Regions from separate parts of the Homo sapiens genome. Here region 1 is linked to region 2. Evidence: promoter capture Hi-C in 16 types of primary human blood cells and fetal thymus (Javierre and others, 2016). All regions are on one chromosome and are shown on one strand. The core of a region is centred on a gene start or on the middle of the fragment in contact, and the rest is flanking DNA. Distances in the headings are between cores, read along the strand shown.

Evidence for each region. Contacts are between HindIII fragments. The CHiCAGO score rates a contact against its expected background, and 5 or more counts as called.
Region 1: a contact is called between a fragment that was not itself captured here and the fragment with the promoter of JPT2 in region 2, in 9 of 17 cell types (naive B cells, total B cells, M1 macrophages and 6 more). The highest score is 8.5, in naive B cells.

The regions. Positions count from the first base shown.
Region 1 is chr16:1,368,476-1,372,788 of GRCh38, forward strand. UNKL (unk like zinc finger) reads right to left here. Exons shown (of 15, transcript NM_001372107.1): 11 at 3,044-3,136; 12 at 1,655-1,882. It also overlaps the pseudogene TJP1P1. Among named protein-coding and RNA genes, the nearest start is that of GNPTG, 19 kb to the left of the region's middle. The HindIII fragment of the contact is 9,841 bases long and covers 1-4,313 here.
Region 2 is chr16:1,676,151-1,680,376 of GRCh38, forward strand. JPT2 (Jupiter microtubule associated homolog 2) reads left to right here and starts at 2,129. Exons shown (of 5, transcript NM_144570.3): 1 at 2,129-2,206. The coding sequence starts at 2,163. It overlaps CRAMP1 (cramped chromatin regulator 1), which reads left to right. Exons shown (of 21, transcript NM_020825.4): 21 at 1-1,758. RefSeq lists silencers at 1,756-2,155, 2,186-2,545 and an enhancer at 1,986-2,621. The HindIII fragment of the contact is 3,871 bases long and covers 489-4,226 here.

The sequences.
Region 1 (4,313 bases), core at 967-3,466, 310 kb before region 2:
CCTGTAGTCCCAGCTACTCGGGAGGCTGAGGCAGGAGAATGGCGTGAACCCGGGAAGCGGAGCTTGCAGTGAGCCGAGATTGCGCCACTGCAGTCCGCAGTCCGGCCTGGGCGACAGAATGAGACTCCGTCTCAAAAAAAAAAAAAAAAAAAAAAAAAAACAGGCCTGTCATCCCAGCACTTTGGGAGGTCGAGGCCAGCAGATCACTTGAGGTCAGGAGTTTGAGACCAGTATGGCCAACATGGTGAAACTCCATCTCTACTAAAAATACAAAAATTAGCCTGGCGTGGTAGCAGGTACCTGTGATCCCAGCTACTCGGGAGGCTGAGACATGACAATCATTTTAACCCGGAAGGCAGAGGCTGCAGTGAGCCAAGATTGCTGGAGCCTGGACGACAGAGTGAAACTTTGTTTTAAAAAAATAAAAACTTTTAAAATTTTGTATTTTTTTGTAGACTCAGGAGTCTCACTATGGTGCCTAGCCTGGTCTTGAACCCCTGGCCTCAAGTGACCACCCACCTCGACCTCCCAAAGTGCTGGGATTACAGGCTTGAGCCACTATGTTGGCCCAAAGTATTAGTTTTTTTTTTTTTTTTTTTTTTTTTTTTGAAATGGAGTCTAGCTCTATCGCCAGGCTGGATTGGAGTGCAGTGGCACAATCTCAGCTCACTGCGACCTCCGACTCCCGGGTTCAAGCGATTCTCCTGCCTTAGCCTCCCAAGTAGCTGGGATTACAGGCATGTGCCACCACGCCCGCCTAATTTTTGTATTTTTAGTAGAGACGGGGTTTCACCATGTTGGCCAGGATGGTCTCGATATCCTGACGTCGTGATCCGCCCACCTCGGCGCCCCAAGTGCTGGGATGACAGGCGTGAGCCACCACGCCGGGCCTTTTTCTCTTTTTTTTTTTTGAGATGGAGTTTCACTCTTGTTGCCCAGGCTGGAGCATAATGGCACAATCTCAGCTCACTGCAAACTCCACCTCCCAGGTTCAAGCAATTCTCCTGCCTCAGCCTCCCCAGTAGCTGGGGTTACAGGCATGCACCACCACACCCGGCTAATTTTGTATTTTTAGTAGAGATGGGGTTTCTCCATGTTGGTCAGGCTGGTCTTGAACTCCCAATCTCAGGTGATCCGCCTGCCTCAGCCTCCCAAAGTGCTGGGATTACAGGTGTGAGCCACTGCACCCGACCAAGTGTTAGTTCTTTTACAACGTAACAAATAGCCGGGCACGGTGGCTCACTGTCATCCCACACTTTGGGAAGCCAAGGCAGGCAGATCACGAGGTCAGGAGTTTGAGACCGGCCCGGCCAGCGTGATGAAACGCCATCTCTACTAAAAATACAAAAACTAGCTGGGCGTGGTGGCGCCCGCCTGTAGTCCCAGCTACTTGGGTGGCTGAGGCAGGAGAATTGCTTGAACCTGGGAGGCGGAGGTTGCGGCGAGCCGAGATCGTACCATTGCAGTCCAACCTGGGCGACAGAGCGAGACTCGGTCTGCGGCGTGGGGGAACCTGTGAGCAGCAGGTCATGTGGTTTGCCACCACAGATAGGGCACAAGGTTCCGTGTGAGGCCCCTCAGTCAGGACGGCATCTGGGAGGGAGCCCCACGGAGGCTTCACGGCAACGCCAGCATGGAGGGAGCCGGCACTCACCTAGGGGGCTGTAGGATGAGGCTGCAGAGCCCAGTGTGCCCGGCTCTGAACGCAGGGGTGGCGGCTGCTGGGGAGGCGTCATGGCTGAGGAGCCCACCGGCCCTGGGAGGGGCTGGGACAGCGAACCGAGCGGCGAGGTGGACGCAGAGGATGGCGAGTGTAGCGATGGTGCTCTGGGCAGGGAGCCGGGGATGGCGACAGGTGCAGAGCCGGCCAGCGACCTGGGACCTGGCGGGGGCGGACCAGTCAGCGAAGGGAGTACCGCCAGGCCTCTGCCCAAACATCTGCCATGGGCGGCAGCCGTGGAAGACGGACCCTGCAGGTGGTGGTGGTGGGGATATGGGGGGTGGGAATATAGGGGCCAGGCCAGCCACCACCATCTATGTGTTTGGAGCCACAGCGCCCCCGGTGGCCATGTCCAACACAGCTGGGCAAGCCATGGGCTCAAAGGGATTCCAACCAGAGGTGGGGAGACGGGGGTTTAACATGGGCCCCCCCCAAAGAGGCCGGACACCCACCAGGCCCTGCCGGCCAACTAAGCCATTGGCACGGTCCTCCCAGCACTTGTCCAGGCCCCCTGAAATGGTTTACTTTCTTTTAAAAGAAAGAAAAGATACACTTTTAGGCTGAATGAAAAGATGTTGTATACGATGTTAAGATACATTTGTATGGGGCCGGGCGCACTGGCTCACGCCTGTAATCCCAGCACTTTGGGAGGCCAAGGCGGGCAGATCACGGGGTCAGGAGATGGAGACCATCCTGGCTAACATGGTGAAACCCCGTCTCTATTAAAAATACAAAAAATTAGCTGGGCGTGGTGGCGGGCACCTGTAGTCCCAGCTACTCCGGAGGCTGAGGCAGGAGAATGGCGTGAACCCGGGAGGTGGAGCTTGCAGTGAGCGGAGATCGCGCCACTGCACTCCAGCCTGGGCGACAGAGCGAGGCTCTGTCTCAAAAAAAAAAAAAAAAAAAAAGATACATTTGTATGGATGTCAATCTTTTGTCTACAATGTGAATACATTTATCCTTCGGGGACCATCAAGACTTTCAGGAAAGGCCCCGCCTGTCTCTGCGCGGCCACTTTGCTGGGACAAAGGTCAACTGAAGAAGTGGGCAGGCCCGAGGCAGGAGAGATGCTGAGGAGTCCATGTGCAGGGGAGGGAAAGGGAGAGGCAGTCAGGGAGAGGAGGAGGAGGTACCGCCAGAAGGGGATCCTCCCGCTCCGAAAACCAGACACCGGGTCTTGCCCTGTGGTCCAGGCAGGAGTGCAGTGGTGCAACCTCAGCTCACTGCAGCCTTGACCTCCCCGGGCTCAAGCGATCCTCCGGCCACAGCACTTGGCTGTTCAGCGGCTGGAGGAGCAGGGCCCCAGGTCCTCCCCACCCTCACCTGCTGCTCCCAGGTCGTGGCCGTCTTGCTCTTCCAGGTCCTTCTCTAGGGATGCAATATTCACATTGCTAAGATGCAGGTCTAACGCAGAACCTGTCAACAGAGCCCCCCATCATCCACAGCCCACCCAGCGCTGCAGAGCTCAGGAAGCCTAGCTGAGGAGGACGACCGTCCCACCTGGGCTTAGAGTGAGACCAAGGGCAGAAGGCGTGGGAGTTGCTGGGGCAGCCAGGGAAGGACACCCCCAGCCCGTCCTCGCAGCCCCCCACAGGCAGTGTGAGGCTTGGCTGTTCCTCCGGCAAAACGAGCGTGCTCAGGTGGGACGCCCCGCACCACAGACCAGCAGCTGGGTCCTCGCCTCTGACACGCTGCTGCTGCCCCTCAGAGTTTAAATACCTAAGTGTGTGTTAGCATCTGTCCACGTGTGCACATTCGACTGTTTAAAAAACTTTCCAGGGCCGGGTGCGGTGGCTCACACCTGTAATCCCAGCACTTTGGGAGGCCGAGGTGGGCAGATCACAAGGTCAGGAGATCGAGACCATCCTGGCTAACACGGTGAAACCCCGTCTCAACCAAAAAAAAAAAAATACAAAAAATTAGCCAGGCGTGGTGGCGGGTGCCTGTAGTCCCAGCTACTCGGGAGGCTGAGGCGGAAGAATGGTGTGAACCCCAGAGGCGGAGCTTGCAGTGAGCCGAGATCGTGCCACTGCCCTCCAGCCTGGACGACAGAGCAAGATTCCATCTCAAAAAAAACAAAAACAAAAACAAAAAAAAAACTTTCTGTGAGGGTGATTTCAAGGAGCAGGTGTTCACGTGCAATTTCATGCCAAGCACCAAGACCTCAATTCCCAAGGCTCAAGACTGAGTGGGAAGGACCCGCCTCAGAGTGGCCTCACCCAGCCAGCCCTGCCTTCCAAGGCTGTCCCCACACATCCCTGCAGGCCGTGGGGCTGCCCTCCTGCACGGGCCCTTCCCTCCCAAGTCCCCACCCCCAACCCCGAATGGCAAGCAGGGACCCCACTGCCCCTTCCTAGAATTAGGAAGCCATCATGAGGAGGCTGAGCTCAGGCCACCAGCCCCTGAAGCCACAGCGTGTCTCAAACTCCCGCAGCCACTGCACAGAAGTTGGGTTGGGGGTGAGGGGTGACCAGAGGATCTGGGATCTGAGAGCCCACGTGCCACCTGGGGCAGACCAGAGGACCGCAGCGGCTGCAGGAGCTCTGGGATACACCCTGTGGGCCGGCGCCGCCTCCCCAGCCCAGCCCAGTGT
Region 2 (4,226 bases), core at 879-3,378:
ACAACTCAGTGGGGTGAAGTTTTGGAGGTCAGAGTCTGCTTTCGTAGGCTCTTTAGACAGCACCTACCACTTGGTTCTCCAGCGTAGACTCCTGGGAGCAGCCAACTGCAGCCATTGCCATCCAGTGGGGAGATGGGTTAGGGAGGAGGACGGGCTGACTCCTCTCCTGTAATAAAGCTGACAAGAGTTCTAGAGGATTCTGCTTCTCTAGTAACTAGACAGGTGATACGCATTTGCTTGCCACATTAAGGGAAAATGGTGTCATTTGTTGCAGAAAAACAATGGATACATTTTCTTCTGGCCTAAATGAATATTTATGTGCAAACATAGGCAACTGTTAAAGGCTGGAATTTTCAAAAGATCCAAACAGAGACTTCCTGCATCTTCTGCCTTTCCAACAGAAGCGGTGATCGTCTAAGTATGAGCCTGTGGCTTCCTTTGTGCATTTGAGCATGCTGTAATTAAGATGAGATCAGTTTCTTAGAAAAAGCTTTCCTGAATCCCTCTGACGTTGCCTGGGATCTTTCTGTTGATTCGTCTTTTCTGGAGATTGGGACAGAGCATCTGTGGTCCAGGGAAGTTAGTCCTCTGGCCTCAATTCTGTTGTGGATGTGCAGTGATAAGCGGGCATTGCGTGCCTCGGGGGATGCCTAGTTCGTGGCTTCCTGGCTGTTTTGTCCTTCTGTGTCTTGTAGCTGTAGGGTGCCAGCTCAGGGAGTGGGGTGTTGGCGGCGTTTCCGCGGTTGGCCTCCTTGCTTTGCCGCACCTCCAGGTTCTGGGCATGAGAGGCCGTGGCCTCATTTCTGGTGGATAACCTTTTTAGTTTAATAGCATCTTTAATTAGATCACAGCATTGAATTCAAAATTTCTTCTGCAAAGAAAGTTGTGGGGCATAAGACACCGGGAATGAGGGAGGAGGAAGACAGTTGTGTTTTCTCTTTAAACCTTGAGCTCTAGCCGATGCATTTGTCAGGAAATACAGCACTTTGTCTTAAGAAAACAAGGAAGGAGGCCGGGCGCAGTGGCTCACGCCTGTAATCCCAGCACTTTGGGAGGCCGAGGCGGGCGGATCACCTGAGGTGGGGAGTATGAGACCACCCTGACTAACATGGAGAGACCCTGTCTCTACTAAAAGTACAGAATTAGCCGGGCGTGGTGGCGCATGCCCATAATCCCAGCTACTGAGGAGACTTGAGGTAGGAGAATCACTTGAACCTCAGCGGCGGAGGTTGCAGTGAGTCGAGATCGCGCCAGTGCACTCCAGCCTGGGCAAGAAGAGCGAAACTGGGTCTCAAGTTAAAAAAAGAAAGCAAGGAAAGAGTAATTTACAACGAAGGAAAAAAACCCACAGCACACCCTTCGCGGCTGTCAGCGCTCTCCTGATGTCACAGTGGCTGCGTGTCCTTGGGGTGGGTGAGGTGTGGGGAGCCCAGCCCCTGGCCCTGCCTCCCGCGCCCCGCTCCCCTTCTCTCTCTTACTCGGTTAAGCCATAGCGAGGCCTCCGCTCGTTTCAGATATGAATTTGTTTTATAGATTATAAATATGCATATACAGTGTATGTATAAAGCAGAATGCCTGCCTTTCCTGGTTATTTTTTGTACCATATTGTAAATTATATTATTTATTCTTTACCAATTTTGGGAATAAAAGGTGTTTTGGTTATTTAATATAATAAGAGCTGTTAAACTTCTGTTTAAATTTCCAGTTCAACTTGTAAATGTTTTTATTGTGCATAAATACATACTAATGTTGATCTAAGGACTGTCGTTTGTGCCTGTTCTTCAGGGCCGCGCGCCCATGCCCGCAGTCCCTGGTCGGGCAGGTGCGGCCCAGGTGCGGCCCCGCGGTCGGCTCGCGGGCTCCCGCAGACCGGGCTTCCTCCCGAGGGCGCGGCCGTCCCAGGGCCCGCCCGGCCCGCCGCCCAATGCGAGCTCCCACCTCCGCGAGCGGCGTCGCCTTCCCCAATCGGCTGCGGGCGCGGCGCCGACCGTTCAAAGCCTAAGTCGTCGGGGGTGGGCGTGAGGGGCGGTGGCCGCGCTGAGATAGGCTGCGGAGGGATGATTGGCGTCTTGGCGCCCAATGGGCGCTGGCGGGCGGCCTTGAGTACCTGCGCTGGGCGGGCGGGAACGGCGCGCGGCGAGCTGAGGGTGGCGGCGGTCGACATGTTCCAGGTCCCGGATAGCGAGGGCGGCCGCGCCGGCTCCAGGTGCGGCGCGGGGCACACGGGAGGCGGGCGGATAGCGCGACCACGTGGCGGGAGCGGGCCAGCCCAGGGCGTCCACCAGCCGTGTGGGGTTGGGGTGGGGTTGGGGGGCAGGGCGACCTCACAGAGGCCCTCGGGGCCGCCGCCCGCCTTTCTGCGCCGCCGCCAGACCGAGGCCCGAAGCCCGAGGGGCCGCTCGCTGAGGCCCGGGCTGTGGAGAGCTGCCCGCGACCGAGGCCGAGGGCGGGGAGGGGCGCCCGGGCTCTGGGAACAAAGCTGTGTGGAGGGCGGGCTGCGCTCCCTCGCGCCTGGGCGCCCGCGTTCCGTGTGGTGCGTTCCGTGGGGGGTTTCCTGGGGGCGGGGTGTGCCCGTGGGTGCGGCCCATTTTGTCTGTGGGATGCGTGTCCATGTTCCCGGGGGGGTGTCCCTAAGGGGTGTGCGGCGATGTGTTCGTGGGGGGTGTCTGGCCATGCCCCCGCTCCTGTGCGTGTGGCCGTGTGCCCGTGTCCCTGGTGTGTGTGTGGCCTGTGCCCTGCCCATGGCCGCGCTTCCACTAGTTCATGTGAGTCCACTTCCTTTGGAAAGTGCCAGGGCGTCTGGGGAAGAGTCAGTTCTATCTCCTGGGAAGGTGGATGGCGCTCCTGGGCTTCGCTGTAGGAAGAAGTGGATTGGGACGAAGATATCCTGACTCAGCTTTAATAGCCAGGAACACTGAGCACACTTTTCTTATGTTTTTGAACTTTTAAAGCACTCTTTGGGTATTGGGACTCGCATGAATTAGAGGGACAGAGCTTACAAGGTCTTTCGTGCCACTTGAGCAGTAAACTTGCATTGTGAAGTTTGGGTCTTCAGATGCCTGAGGTTTTCTGTATGATGAGCCCCTCTGTGGCACAGCCTCGCCAGAGAAGTAGAAGAGAATATGTGTGCCATGACTGTTAAGACCAATACTATATTGCTTCTCAGCCTTTTGGCTATGATCAAGTGAAGACAAATACTATATTGAATAAATACTAAGTAAAAGAATTGCTCCAACTTGCTAAAAATAAAAACCCTTTAGATTGGCCGGGCGTGGTGGCTCACACCTGTAATCACGGCACTTTGGGAGGCTGAGGTGGGCGAGTCACGTGAGGTCAAGAGTTCGAGACCAGCCTGGCCAACATGGTGAAACCCCCGTCTCTACTAAAAATGCAAAAATTAGCCAGGCGTGGTGGTGTGTGCCTGTAGTCCCAGCTACTTGGAGAGGCTGAGACAGGAGAATCACTTGAACCCAGAGGCAGAGGTGGCAGCGAGCCAAGATAATGCCACTGCACTCCAGCCTGTACGACAGAGCAAGACTCCGTCTCAAAAAAAAAAAAAACCCTTTAGATTTGAGGGAGTTAGGTCAGTATTCAGTAATACTTGTAACCAAATAATTACCCGTGGCAGGGTGCAGTGACTCAACGGCTGTAATCCCGGCACTTGGGGAGGCCGAGGCAGGTGGACCACGAGATCAGGAGATCGAGACCATCCTGGCCAACACGGTGAAACCCCGTCTCTACTAAAAATACGAAAAAATTAGCCGGGTGTGGGGTGGCGGGTGCCTGTAGTCCCAGTTCCTTGAGAGGCTGAGGCAGGAGAATGGTGTGAACCCGGGAGGCGGAGCTTGCAGTGAGCCGAGATCACACCACTGCACTCCAGCCTGGATGACAGAGCAAGACTCCGTCTCAAAGAAACAGCCCTTCATCCATGGAACAGTGATTATTATGCCTAGGTCTGCACCGATGTGGGACCAGGAGTTTAAACTAGTGCTCAGAGCGAATCCGGTTTCTGGTTCCTGGTGGCCAGAGTTTTGCACCACCCACATCAGTGGGGGGAGGGACTGCATCCCCAGCCCTGTCCCAGTTGTGTGCATTTAGTACGTTTCCTTTTTGTTTGTGCTGCCTGGCACTGGCTGCCCGGTAAATGATGGTGTTTATTATCACCCTGAGCGACGCCGATGTTTTTATATTGACTTTCACGCTCCAGAAGTTAGCTGCACAGGGCC